Linked DNA regions of Homo sapiens: region 1 is linked to region 2. The links are contacts of gene promoters, found by promoter capture Hi-C in blood cells and fetal thymus (Javierre and others, 2016). All regions are on one chromosome and are shown on one strand. Each heading gives the region's core, a stretch centred on a gene start or on the middle of the fragment in contact. The rest is flanking DNA. Distances are from core to core; before and after follow the strand shown.

Region 1 (7,745 bases), core at 175-2,674, 120 kb before region 2:
GCAGCCATTAAGAAGTAAAAAATAAAGGGACAGCCAAATAAGCCTAAAAATCTAAAAGAAAGCAGGATAAAAGCAAATTTCACAGAATAGAAAGCATATATATATTAGTCTTAAGAGGCTAATAAAATCTAGAAACCTAGAATTGTTTTTCAAGGAGCATACTCCAGATTAAGCGAAGATTCATAAGACTACACTATGCCACAAACCACTTTATGCAAGTAAAGCTGGAAACTTAGATGAAAAAGGTAGATTTCTAGAAACATATAATTTAACAGAAATTATTAAGGAAGCTAGAGAATACCTGAAAGTTTCTACAACTATTAAAGACAGTGGTCAGTAGTTTAAACTCTTCTGAAAATGAGAACACCAAGTCCAGATTATCTTCACAGGCAAATTCTACCAAACGTTCAAAGAAAATATCATTTTAATCTTATATACATTCTTCCAGAGGATCAAAAGGAGGAAACACTTTCCAATTCATTTCATAAAATTAACATAACCTCAGTACCCAAGAAAGAAAAATAATTAGCCAATCTCTTTTATGATCAGTAATGAAAAATTTTAAAACAAAATATTAGCAAAACAAATAATGTATTTAAAAAATAGCCGGGCACAGTGACTCACACCTGTAATCCCAGCACTTTGGGAGGCCAAGGCAGGTGGATCACAAGGTCAGGAGTTCGAGACCAGCCTGGCCAACATGGTGAATGAAACCCCATCTCTACTAAAGATACAAAAAAAAAAAAAAAAAATTAGCCGGGCGTGGTGGCACACACCTGTAATCCCAGCTACTCAGGAGGCTGAGGTAGGAGAATCGCTTGAACCTGGGAGGCAGAGGTTGCAGCGAGCCAAGATTGAGCCACTGCATTCCAGCCTGGGTGGCAGGGTGAGACTCTGTCTCCAAAAAAAAAAAGTAATGAACCAGTTAGATTTAGATTTATTTCAGGAATGTAAAGATGCTTTAACATTAGAAAACCAATGCCTGTAATCTTCATCATTAACAGATTAAAGGACAAAATATATTATCATTTCAACAGATTTATATCAAGCATTTGGTAAAACTCAACATCCATTTATGATAAGTCCTCTTAGCAAACTTGGAATAGAATACATTCCTTGACATAAAAGATACACATCAGAAATCTACAGCAAACACTTTAATAGTGAAACATTAGAATGTTCTCTTAAAAACTAGGAATAAGACAAGGTGTTCACCAGTCCCACTTTTATTCAAGGTTATACTGTTGTCAAGACTAGCTATTTGAGAAGGCTGTTCAGCTAAAAGCAAAAAAAGACCAGCTCAGTAAAAGAACAAAAAAGACATAAAAATATGAAGTTTGAAATGGAAGAAACAAAAGCCATTATCTGCAGGTTGATTTATGATAGCCCATTTGGGAAATCCAGAAGAATTCTCATTATTAGGATTAATGAGAGATTAACCAGGTTGCTAGATTTCTGAAACTCAAATGCATTTCTAAACACCAGCAACAAAGAATTTAAAAATGTAAAATTAAAAAATGTAAATGTGTGTAAATGTATACACACACACACACACACACACACACATATATATATATACTATTTAGGAAGCAACAAAAAATAAGACACCTAGGGATAAAACAAAATAATAGCAACAGCTACCAACAACTGAGCATTTACTATATGCCCCTATGAAGTAGAAATATTAGCGCCTATTTTACAGATGAGGAAAATGAGGCACAGAGAGGCTGACTTGCCCAAGATGACATTGTAAGCAGCTAGGTGAGGATTGAAACCAACAGGATTGAAACCCAAGATGACACCGTAAGCAGCTAAGTGAGGACTGAAACCAGGCAGCCTGGTTCCGAAGCCTTTGCTCTTAAAACCACTACTCTACGCTGTCTCTACACTGTCTCGCTCCATAAGATGTGCAAGACCTGCATGGAGTTGTAAGTTATACTGTACGTATACAAATGTCATTGTAAGACAAAAGAGATGCCATGTTCATGCACAAGAGACACTCTAGCATTGATACGTTGATTCTCCTCCAAATTGATATAAAAAATTAATACAACACCGATCAAAATTCCAACAGGATTTTCCACAGATGCTAATTCTAAAATTTATAAGGAGGAGCAGGCCAGGCATGGTGGCTCATGCCTGTCATCCCAACACTTTGGGAGGCCAGGGTGGGCAGATCAGTTAAGCCCAGAGTTCAAGATCAGCCTGGGCAACATGGCGAGACCCCATCTCTACAAAAAATTTTTAAAAAGTAGCCAGGCATGGTGGTGGCATCCAGTTACTTGGGATGCTGAGGTGGGAAGACTGCTTGAGTCTGGGAAGTTGAGGTTGCAATGAGCCATGATCACACCACTGTAAGACACTCCTGAAGAAAAGAAACAAGGTGGGGAAATTAGGCTATCAGGTATCTAGATTTACTGTAAAGAAACAGTAGTTGAAGCACTATGGTATTAGTGAAGGAACAACAAAAAGATCAATGAAACAGAATAGAGTGCCCAGAAATAATCCCACAATCATGCAGAAACAATATAAGAAAAAGGCAGTATTTCAATAACTGGGAAAAAAAATAAACTATGAAATGCAAAAAAGGAAAGTTGGATCCACACCTCACACCATACATAAAAATAGTCTTCATGTAGCTTAAATACTTATATGTGAAAGGCAAAATTTTAGAATATTGGACAATATTTTTATGACTCTGAGGTAAGAGTAGATTTCTAAAAATAAGACATTGAAAACAATGAGAAATCCAACTATATTAAAATTAGGAATTTCTATTCATCAAGAGACACCAAAAAGAGACTCAAAGGACAAGCCAAAGGCAGCTGTGGTAGCTCATGCCTGTAATTCCAGTACTTTGGGAGGCAGAGGTGGGAGGATCAGTTGAGGCCGGGAGTTCAAGTTCGAGGTTGCAGTGAGCTATGACTGCACTCCAGCCTGGATCACAGAGTAAGACCCTGTCTCAACAAAAAAAAAAAAAAAAAAGACAAGCCAAAGCCATGAACCCAGAGAAGACTGAAACTCCTAATACTGACAAAGGGAAAGAACTATAAGTCAGTAAGAAAAAGACTGACAAATCAATGGAAAAGTGGGCAAAAGACATGAACAGACGCTCCATGTTTCCGGAAGAGGAAACACTAATGGATAATAAATATACAAAAATATGCTCAAATCATTAGGAATCGGGGAAATGCAAATTGAAATCAAAATACCATTTTACACCCACAAATTTGGCAAAACTAGGTGTGTGTGAAGATGCGGCACGATGGGAACTCATATGCTGCTGGTGGGAGTATCAACTGGTACAATCACTTCAGAAACTATTAGGCATCATCTTTTGAGGCTAAACATATGTGAAGTCCATGATCCAGCAATTTCACTCATTACCAGATGACAAGGGTAAGTTACTCATCTTCCTATGTCTCTGCTCCCTCATCTGAAAAATGAGCATCGTAATAATACCAACTCATAGGGTTGCTCTTAGTGCCCATATATATAAAAGCACTGAGAACACTGCCTGGCCCATTATAAGTTCCTTATATACTAGACAATATTTGCACTGTTCTCATCAGAACCCAAGTGTACACTGTCAGAGGAGTAGACAAACCTGTAAATTCACACAATCAAAAGCGATCCAGCAATGAAAGTGAATGAACTAAGCTTAAGCTGCAGAAGACTACCTATAATATTGTACTATATCAAATTCAAAACCAAGCAAAAATAAACGATTAATTGTGCAGGGAAATACATATAGAGTAAAACTTTAAAAAAGAAGATGAAACCTAAATAAAGTGAGGCTGGGATATTTGAAGGAAACAAGGCAAGGATGTCTAGTGCATGGCAAATGACGACAGCTGTAAGATGTGACATCAGGCTGTGCATGGTGGCTCACGCCTGTGATCCCAGCACCTTGGGAGGCCAAGGCAGGTGGATCACCTGAGGTCAGGAGTTCGAGAGAGCCTGGCCAACATGGTGAAACCCCATCTCTACAAAAAATACAAAAATTAGCTGGGTGTAGTGGCGGGCACCTGTAGTCCCAGCTACTCGGGAGGCTGAGGCATGAGAATTGCTTGAACCCGGGAGGCAGAGGTTGCAGTGAGCCGAGACCATGCCATTGCACTGCAGCCTGGGTGACAGAGTAAGACTCTGTCTCAAAAACAAAACAAACAAACAAACAAAAAGATGTGAGGTCAGAGGCAAACGGAGCCTGGACTATGCAGTAGGGACCTTTATTTTGTTTATGATGGAAAGCCACTGAAGAATTATAAACAAAGGGGTGATAGAAAATGATTTGTGCAAGATCGCCCTGCTGCTAGGTGAATAATGGACAAAGAAAGGGGAGAGTGGAAACAGGAAAACCAGTTAGGAGGCTGTGGCGTGGCCCAGGAAAGGCAGGAAGAAGTTTGTTCTGAAGCAGTAGTAAAGCTGGATTTAAGTGTGGAACTCAGGAACACTGATAGAACTGACGGGTCTTGCTGATGATGAACTGAAGCAGGAGGATCCTTTAAGCCCAGGAGTTCAAATCCAGCCTGGGCAACATAGTGAGATCACTGTCTCTTAATACATATATATATTTTACCCTTAATACATATATATATAAATACCCACAGGGTATGGGGCAAATAGAAAAACTCCAATATGTTTCTGGGCTTTTGGCTTGAGCAACAGGGTGGATGGATGGTGGTGCTGTTTAATCAGACAAAGGAGACTGGGAGAAGTTTTGGGGTAAATAGGGCAGAAAAGTCAGGACATGCAAGTTTGACACATCTTAAATATCTGAGTAGAAAACTGAATTACTATTAGGCCAGCTGCTTATGAGTTTTGATCTCAACGGAAAGATCAGCCTAGAGAGACAGATTTAGGAGTCGAGGCATAGAGATGGTATTTAAAGCAATGGGATTGGCTAAGATCTTCCAGAGGAGAGTTCAGGTAGAAAAGAGAATAGGCCAAGAATGGGACCCTGGGTATTCCAAGGCTTAGAAGTCTGGCAGAGGAGAAAAGTTCAGCAAAGGAAACTGAGGAGCTGCCGATGAGGGAGGAAAACCGGAAGGACACGCCTTCACAACTTAGAGAAGAAAGTGGTCCAGAAGATGTGTCAGATGCTGCCGAAGAGTGGAATAAGCTGAGAACAGAAAACTCATCACCGGATCTGGCAGAATGAAGAATACTGGTGACTACAATAGTAGACATTTCAGTGGAGCAGGAAAAACATTTGACTAAAGGATCTTTCCTTCTTAGGAAGACAATCAGTTGCAGATGAAAGTGAGGACAGAGGACAAGATTTCAAGCTGCAATAAAGGGCATGCTGTACAGCAGAAGGAACCTGTACCTGCAGCTTGGTCTCCACACTGGCCAGCAGTAAGGCCACCAACTCAATTTCTAGCACAGCTTGTTAAGATGTTGGGACCACATGTTCTCTAAGATCTCTTGTGGTTCTGAGGATTCCCTGTTAAGAGAGAAGTGAAGTTTCACCTGAGAATATAGGGAAGAGATGTGAAGGGGGACCTGAATGTAATGTCAACAAACTATAAACAATGTTTTAAAACTGTTATTTAAAAAAAATTTTAGAAGGCCAGGTGCGGTGGCTCACACCTGTAATTCCTGCACTTTGGGAGGCTGAGGCAGGAGGATCACTTGAGCTCAGGAGTTCAAGACCAGCCTGGGCAACATAATGAGACTTCGTCTTTACAAAAAAAAAATACATATATATATGTATTATATATTATATAATACATATATAAAATATATATATGTATTAAGAGACAGTGATCTCACTATGTTGCCCAGGCTGGATTTGAACTCCTGGGCTTAAAGGATCCTCCTGCCTCAGCCTCCCCAGTAGCTGGGACTATACTCACAAATGAAAAAAATTTTTTTTTTAATAGATCTGATGTCACTCTAGAACTACATACAGGACAAATGACATAGCACACAAGTGCCCAGAAAGGTTCAATTATGTCCTACCATATCATTACCCCAGGGTCACTGTGCTATTTTTGAAATCATATAGATCAGGAGTTGATCTGTATCTCCTCTGTAACGAGACTTGAGTGATGAACTGAAAAACGCACATGGAAGAAATCATTAACTCTGTAGAGTTCGAAAGCTGCACAGTAATACCCAGAGACTAAATATGAAGATTTCTGCTCTTTTTCCCAATTATGGAGGCATTAAATCCAGATTCTGCCACTTCCCATGAACCGAAAAGCCAGGACGGGAAACACCAACTTGTGATTTCACTCTTTTTCCTTTCTTACTTGCATTCTCTCCTCACTTGACTCCCCTCCCACAAAGTTCAGCTTCTGACAGTCTTACAATGCTTAAACAGAGTAAGAAAACTGCAATTTGGACTCAAGATGTCTTTATCTACAAAGACAATTAACATTTTTTAAAAATAGGTCACAGAGGCCGAAACAACTTGCTATTTTACCTTTAAATGGTACATTTTAAAGCATTGTATAATCAGCTGGGGTTTTTTGACCAGAGATAATTCCATCTTTCTCTGATCTCCCTATCTATCCCACCTCAAGGCAAGACCTATATTTTGCTTTAGAAACAAACAGCTGCACTCAGAAAGAGAAAACAAAATAATCCTTAGACATTCCTGATAAAGGACTTCACAGACAGAAAATACCATTATCTTACTGTTTGAAACCAGAAGACTTTGATTCAAATAACAATACACGTCACATCATAGCTACCTATTCAAAGATCTTCCACCTTGTAAAGAAGAATTCTGGGATATGAATGAGCATCTTTAAGTCTACTGTTGAGACCTCAATACAGGAAGTATAAATTTTAGACCTAAGATCTGAATAATCATCTAGCTTTGTATCAGAAATGTTAGCAGCAATACAAAAACAAAGCATGGTTTCCAGGTAATTATAAATGCTGGGTGTGACTGAGATACTGGGATAGGACAGCATCAGGTCAGACTACCAATAACTTTTTTTTTTTTTTTTTTTTTTGAGACAGGGTCTCACTCTGTCGCCCATGCTGGAGTGCAGTGGAGCAATCTCAGCTCACTGCAACCTCTGCTCACCTCGTTCAAGCAGTTCTCTCACCTTAGCCTCCCTGAGCAGCTAAGACTACAGGCACGCACCACCACACCCAACTAATTTCCGTATTGTTTGGTAGAGATGGCATTTCACCATGTTGGCCAGGCTGGTCTCAAACTCCTGACCTCAAGTGATCCAACCACCTCGGTCTCCCAAAGTTCTGGGATTACAGGTGTGAGCCACCACACCCGGCCACCAGTAACTATTTTTAAGGAGAAACTGCAATAAACTTTTTTGTATTAATAGGAAATGAGACTTACTTGTATCACTTTTAGATTTCTAGTTATTCTCCAATGGCAAATTTAATAACCATATTCAGTCTTCAAATTTTCCAAATAAAAAGGGTCATTTTATTATACCCATCAGGATTGCTGATATCTAAAATGGTATCTTTGACTTCTCCAACCCCACATTTACTGCGGATAAAATTTTAACATTGCTTACTTGGTTTCACATAATAGACGCATTAGTCTTAGCAAATATATTTTTGCATATGTACATAAAATAATTTTCCCATTGACAACTTCAAATTATGCCTTGTTTTCATCTCCTAAAGCTGCCACAACAAATTACCACAAACTTGGTGGTTTAAGACAACCATAATTTATTCTCTCATAGCTCTGGAGACCAGAAGAGCAACACCAAGGTGTAGGCAGGGCTGTGCGGCCTGTAAAGGCTCTAAGGGAG
Region 2 (7,081 bases), core at 854-3,353:
CTCGCTCTGTCACCCAGGCTGGAGTGCAATGGCGCAATCTCAGCTCACTGCAACCTCCGCTTTCCAGGTTCAAGCAATTCTCGTGCCTCAGCCTCCCAAGTAGCTGGGATTACAGGCACCTGCCACCATGCCCGGCTAATTTTTATATTTTTAGTAGAGACAAGGTTTCACCATGTTGGCCAGGTTGGTCTTGAACTCGTGACCTCAAGTGATCGCCCACCTCAGCCTCCCAAAGTGCTGGGATTACAGGCATGAGCCACCATGCCCTGCCTCTTTTTTTTTTTTTTGAGACAGTCTCGCTCTATTGCCCAGGCTGGAGTGCAGGGGCTTGATCTTGGCTCACTGCACCGTCCACCTCCAGGGTTCAAGTGATTCTCCTGCCTCAGCCTCCCAAGTAGCTGGGATTACAGACATGTGCTACCACGCCCAGCTAATTTTTGTATTTTTAGTAGAGAGAGTTTCGCCATGTTGGCCAGGCTAGTTTCAAACTCCTGACCGCAGGCGATCCACCTGCCTTGGCCTCTCAAAGTGCTGGGATTACAGACATGAGCCACCACGCCCTGCCTCTTTTTTTTTTTTCCTATTTTTTGGTTTAATTTTATTTTATTGTAAGTTTTCGGGTACATGTGCAGTATGCGCAGGTTTGTTACATAGGTAAATGTGTGCTATGGTGGTTTGCTGCACCTATCAACCCACTGCCTAAGTATTAAGCCTGGCATGCATTAGCTATTTTTTCTGACACTCTCCCAGCCCCTCCCCCATCACCTCCCCCCTTTTTTTTTTAAAGAAGCAAAGTCTCATTCTGTCACCCAGGATGGAGTACATGGAGTACAGTGGCGCAACCAGAGCTCACTGCAGCCTCCAACCCCAGGGCTCCAGCAATCCTTGAGCCTCTTTATAGGGACTTTATAGGCGCGTGCCACCGTGCCCAGCTAATTTTTAAAATTTTTTGTAGTAACAGAGTCTCACTATGTTGCCCAGGCTGGTCTCGAACTCCTGGCTTCAAGCGATCGTCCCATCTAAGCATCCCGAAGTGGTGGGATTACAGGCATGCGCCACTGCACCCGGCCACAAGCTGCTTTTGGAGAAGCAGACAGTGGAAAAGGAGGCAAGTGTCAGCATCAAAGAGAGAACTGAAGAGCTCACAATTCTGTCATGGCAGTACCTCCCTGCCCAACAACTGCAAGTGAGAGGAAGGGCTACCCTGAACATATGGAATCTTTTTTTTTCCCCACTCAGGTCAGGCGAGTAATGTGCAAGGGTGTCACATCTCACACATGCACGTGAACACCCAATCATCATGCTCATGAACTACAAAAGGATCAGCAGATGGAATCTTAAAAAACAGAAGAATCTCCCTACCTGTGCCGACATGGGAGGTGGAGCGGCTTTGTCCCCATCTTCCCCTCTCAAAACCGGCCGATTCAGCACGATGCCAGTCTGCAAAAGAGAAAGGACTCTAGGTCAGTCCAAAACTAGCTGTTTCACTAAACGACGTTCGCTCCCAATTCATTCAACAAAACGTACCCAGTGCCTGTCTGCCAGCGCTCTGGCTGGGCACTGAAGAGGACCAAGATGGATACAAGAAATTACAACTAAGCTGGCAAAGGCAAGAACAAGCTAAAAAGGGCAAGCCTCCGCCTTGCTGTGCCGAGATAAAGAAAGAATGAAGACCGAGCCGTGATGGGGTATATAAGGTCTCCTGGAGAAGCTCGGCCTATCCTGACGTCCCGCCGCCAACACCTACCTGGCGGGTGTAGCTCTGCAGCCGCTCCACCAGCTCCTCGCGATTACCTGCAGGGCAAAGTACACGATCAATGGGGCAGGCCAGCCCGGCCAGGTCAGGCCCCAGCGGCCTGCCTCCGCCCCTCGCACCCGAGTCTCCCGGGTAACCAGGCTCCGCTTCTCCGCAGGCCCGTAAAGGCCCCTCGACTTCCTGTGTTCCTCACCCTGGATCGGAGCTCCGATCTCTGCCAACTTGGCCTGAAGCTCCTGGGCAGCCCAGGCGCCATAGTGGCCTGGAGGTGGCGGCGGCGGCAGCTGCAATTCTGCTTTGGGAGGCTCGGGATGCTCCGTCGCCATCTTAGCCGCAGGAAGGCGCGCGACCAACCCGGAAGCTGGGGCCAGCCTCAGGGCCCACTTGCCGGAACTTCCGGTGGCGCCGTATGCCACGTCCTCTCTGGTTGGGAGGCGACGCGCACTCAGGCACACCCGCTGCCGTGCGCTGGGCGACGGGATTCGCCGCAGACGCACCTTTCTCTAGTGGCCCCTCGGCGGTCTGGTCGCGAGGCCTCCTGGGAGTTGTAGTGCGCAGGTCTCGGTCTCTGCGGGCCCTGCGCGCCGCTACGGCCCCGAAGGCCGGCGGCGGGCCGGAGGGCGGGGCTGCGAGGAGGGCTGGCACTTCCCCGAGGGAGTGTTTTCTGCGCCTCACCTGCGGGAGCGAAGGCTCTCAAGCTTTCCGGCCCGGCCCTCCGGTCAGATCCTCGAACGCTTACGCTCCCAGGGAGTCCCGAGAGACTCATTTCCCCGGCGGCCCCGCGTTGCGGGCGCCAAGCGGGAGGCTGGAGCCGATGCCTGGGATAAAACAGTGTCTGATTGTCTGCCCGCCCACCCCCGGCCCAGGCCCGGATGAATGGGCTGAAAGGGGATCCAAGCCGGGAGAGCAGCAGGCCTGCCCGGGCTGAGCTCCAGCTGCCGACCTGGGGGAAGGGCGACTCTAAAGCCCCCTTTTCCACCTTCCAGGCCGGCTCAAATGTCGTCTTCTCCACTAAGCCTCCTCCCGCTTTCCTTTCCTTTCTTAGAGCTCCCATAATACGTTCGAATCTCCACCGTTTGTTAAGTCTTTCTTGCCCTTTCTTCCTACCTCTATCCCAAAAATGTGAGCAGGGACTTGATCATTTTCAGTCTCGCATCGCCTGGCGTTCAAGAGGCGCCCAATAAATGATTACTGGAAAAAAAGGAACAATGTTTCTGGTGAAAGCATTTGTGTCTTTTTTAGTCTCAAAAATAAACTCAGGCCCTTTTCCCTCAGCCGCACCTGCACTGGGGGCCCCACCTTGCCTCCCACTCCCCACCCCAACTCCCCTTGGCCTTTGGAGACAGAGGCAGAGACTGGCAGGGATTCTTGCCTGCCTAGCATCCACCTCTCCCTGTCCCACACCATCAATTCAGTTTCTCTCCCCACCTCTGCCACTAGCTCTGCCCTCTCACCAACAGCTAGCCTGTGTGTGTTTTTTATGTGTGTTGAGAAAGGGAGTGGGGAGACTCAAGTGAAATGGTCTCATTTTCCCCCTACACATCCCCTTCAGATCTTTTCTCCAGCTCCATTTTGCCAACTGCCCCCAGTGGAGAAGAAGCTGGGAACAGGGAAAAAAAAAGAATGGGGCACCAGGTCGGGGGAAGGTGAGGTTTGGGAGAGACAGGGAAAAGGACTGGGTTGAGAAAGGTTGGCTCACATCCTAGCACTGGGTGGGAAGTCCTCTTCCTCCTACCCAAACCTTGACCTTTCCCCTTTCCATCAATATCACTATGGGAGGCTCCTGCAGCCACACTCCCAGAGGAGAAGCCAAACCCGGAAAGGACAGTAACGAAGACAGAAAAACAGCGCCCTTCCCTCCAGCTTGTCAGCCCACTCAGGCAGAACCTTTCTAGCCCAAAGGAAGGCTCTTCTGCTCCCTGTAACTGGAGAGCCCAGGGCAGGTCATCTGAGGCTGAGGGCCCCAAGGCATGTGTAGGTGCTAGGGAAGGGGGCGGGGTCTCTGAGGCAGGATAAACTAAAGGCTGATGGAGTCTCATTTTATTTATTTATTTTTTATTTATTTATTTATTTTTTTTTTTTTTTGAGACAGAGTCTCAGTTGCCCAGGCTGGAGTGCAGTGGCTCTATCTGCGCTCACTGCAAGCTCCGCCTCCTGGGTTCACGCCATTCTCCTGCCTCAGCCTCCCGAGTAGCTGCGACTACAGGCGCCCGCCACCACGCCCAGCTAATTTATTTGTATTTTTTTTAGTAGAGACGGGGTTTCACCGCGTTAGCCAGGATGGTCTCGATCTCCTGACCTCGTGATCCGCCCGCCTCAGCCTCCCAAAGTGCTGGGATTACAGGCGTGAGCCACTGCACCCGGCCTGGAGTCTCATTTTATAACAGCCCTGGGAAGGAGGCAAGGTCTCAAGATCCTCCTCCCCCACGATATTGTACACAGCGGAAGATTGATGGGCAGAGAAGGTGACATGCCCAAGAGGCCAAACTGGGGCCACCAGCAGTCCTTCTGACTCTGAGAGTCCCTATTTCCTCCTCCTCAACCATAACAAGGACCCTCACACTATTTCCTATGTGGGCCTAGAAGGGCGTATCCAGCCCCTTCCAGTCCCACCTTTGGGTGGCTACCCAGCTCCAGGATCCTTGCTTTACCAGGCCCAGAGCAAAATAGAAAGCAGGTGTGCAGGCCAGCCACAGAACTCAGTGTAGGGCTCTTGATGTCTGGCATGGCTTTGGGAGGTGCTGCTGCCCAGCTCCCAGGTGATGGGAGCTGAGGACTAAGAAGTTCACATGGAGCCTTCGTGTGTATTATCTCTGCTACCTCAGAACAGCTTCCCATTTTACAGCTGGAAGCAATAGGGCTTAGGGAGTTGCCTCTTGACTCTGGGATTTAAGAGCAAACCAGGATTGAACTTGGGTTCTTTGATGCCTGGTGGCAGGTGCCTAGGCAGGGGTCCCAGCCTCACTATAGCTCTGGTCAGGAGTGAGTGGGTCTGGAGTCCTAGTGAGGAAAAATGGGTGAGCAGCCAGAAGCTACATCAGAGGGTATGGGGGACACGCTGGAAGGGAAGGGGGCATGTGGGCAGAGATGGGACCAGACAAGGCTGGAGCACTGCTTCTCTACTGGAGGAGGACAGAGGATGTGAGTACCTGCACGTGTACCAGCATCTGGCTCACCCAGAAGCCCACGTATGACCGGCGGTGCCCCAGAATACCCAGCAATGCAGGAGTATCCAGACACCTTCCCGGCCTCAGTTTCCCTGCCTGAGTGAGAGAAGGGAGCTGGCCACATTAGTGTCCAACTCTGCAAGGTTGCCAGAGTAAGACAACTGCATCTGAAGATGCCACCCAGAGACTGTTCACGGCAGCCAGCGGGCAAGCCAGGGAACCACCCCCCCTCCCCCGTCCCCCTTCCTTTCCCCTCTCTCCCCTCTCCCCTACTTGCTCGTGGCCTGGCCCCGCCCCTCGCCTTCCTCCGGTGTGCGATGGGGGGCGGGGGGCGGGGGGCGGGCAGAGCCGGGAGGAGCGAGCCTAGCGGACGCTGCCACCTGATCCCATCCAGGCGCTGAGAGGCAAGCCACCGGCACTCGGCGCGCAGGGCCCCGGGCACCCTCGGACCCCGTGCGGATTTCGAGACAAGGGTCCAGAGATAGCGGCGGCCGCCCCCAACCCGGGCCAGAGGCAGAGCCCAGGCGTGCGGTGTGAGTACTGCAGTGGCCGGCATGGGGTTGGAGGGGTGGGAGTGGACCAGACCGGGATGGGGGCCGAGAGGCGGGCGGGAGAGTGTCTTGGGGGCCTAGTGGTTGGAAAGCATGAGGAGGGGGGCGCTCTACCCCTGGAAAGTGGGAGAAGATAGGGTGAGCGGGCCAATCTGGCCTATCCCCTATGGTGATCAGATCCCACTGGCAGGATCCCTGGGGGATGCTGGGATGAAATTGAGGGAGTGGGAGGTATGGTGCGGGTGGGCAGTAATGGAGACAGGAGGATGGAGGGAATTCCAAGGCAGGGATGATGCGGGGGTGGATGAGAGAGAGAGGAGGCTGGGGGGCCAGGGGCAGACCTGGTGCAGGCTGGGGGGTGGGGGAGGAGGAAAAAGAGGGAGGTGGAAAGATTTGCTCTCCCAGGCCAGTACTTTGCAGACCCCCTCAGCCCTTCGCCCCTCCTCTGGAGCACCCTGGGTCAGCGTCCCTCAACACTGGGCTGTCCCATCCCTCAAGTCAGGACAGGATGGAGTCTCCGGGCCATCCAGCAGTCAGGTCCAAGTGGTCCAGTCCAGGGCACCCCTTCCTCTAAGTGCATCGGTTTCAGCTCTAGAGCTCAGAGGAGACAGAGGAGAAAGGGCTCCTTTAGGAGGGTGGGCACCCCGGCCCATTTTCAAAGCTTTGGTCGGCTCTACTATTTCTTTGGTTCCCTGGAGAAAAGCTAGCAATTTGCAAAACTGGGCAGCAGCGTGAGGTAGATTGTTCTGACTAAAATTAGCACTGACATTCTGATGAGCCTGGGCGTCCTGACCTGCCTGGGATAGCTGGGAGAACTCTCTCTATGGAGAAGACACCAGGCACAATGGGGAGTCGTGTGAAGCATCTGAGGGCAGGAGCCAGGGCCACTGCTCTAAAGCACAGCTCCAGCAGCACCATCATGCACCCCACACCAGCCAGAAAATCCGATGGAAACCCAGCCCAGTGGCCCCCTCCCTGAGAGGCACTGCCTTGGCCCCATCTCCAAAACAGGCATCTTGGAGTCAAATTGCCAAGGGAAGGCAGGCCTCCCACAGTGTCCGAGCAGCACCCTCTCTCAGGACCTGGAATGTTTAGCCTGGCCGAGTGCCCACCCAGAGGAGACAGGGTTACTGCTTCCAAATACCTGAAGGTCTGTCATGGAGAAAAATGTTCTATGTGCTCTAGGAGGGCAGCACTACCAAGAGTGCAGAATGGGAGGTGTAAGGGGCAGGCCGAAGCAGGTGCTACCACTGGCAGGGTAATCCTGGCTGTCCCGGAAAGAACCTGAACAAGCTGTAAGTTGCTCAGAAATGGACCAGGCTGTATCAGGAGGTGATGAACACCCTGTCATTGACAGTGGCCATACAGAAGCTGGTGCCCGCCTTCAGGGGCTGGTGTCCAGGGAATTCCTGCACTGAGGATGCCCTGTCCCCTGTCCCTAAGCAGGCCTCAGACTGGGGCCTGGCTAGCTCCCCAGAGCTCAGCCATGTAGGGAAGTGGGGAAAGGCCCAAGAGTGGGACAGAGGGGGATACCAGGCACCTGTCACTCTCTCTGTGCGGCCAGTAGAAGCTCTGCCCTCGGGAAAGGTCCCCCATAGCTAGGCTTG

What was found. Contacts are between HindIII fragments. The CHiCAGO score rates a contact against its expected background, and 5 or more counts as called.
Region 1: a contact is called between a fragment that was not itself captured here and the fragment with the promoter of SF3B2 in region 2, in 1 of 17 cell types (naive B cells). The highest score is 5.1, in naive B cells.

What each region holds. Positions count from the first base shown.
Region 1 is chr11:66,162,574-66,170,318 of GRCh38, reverse strand. All of the region lies in intron 1 of PACS1 (phosphofurin acidic cluster sorting protein 1), which reads right to left. Among named protein-coding and RNA genes, the nearest start is that of KLC2, 91 kb to the left of the region's middle. The HindIII fragment of the contact is 4,476 bases long and covers 1-3,662 here.
Region 2 is chr11:66,047,386-66,054,466 of GRCh38, reverse strand. SF3B2 (splicing factor 3b subunit 2) reads right to left here and starts at 2,103. Exons shown (of 22, transcript NM_006842.3): 1 at 1,950-2,103; 2 at 1,748-1,794; 3 at 1,363-1,440. The coding sequence starts at 2,082. SNORD13F (small nucleolar RNA, C/D box 13F) reads right to left here and starts at 1,323; the gene lies at 1,239-1,323. It overlaps GAL3ST3 (galactose-3-O-sulfotransferase 3), which reads left to right and starts at 5,306. Exons shown (of 3, transcript NM_033036.3): 1 at 5,306-5,456. RefSeq lists enhancers at 1,896-2,065, 2,686-2,735, 2,554-3,105 and a silencer at 2,276-2,485. The HindIII fragment of the contact is 3,706 bases long and covers 1-2,456 here.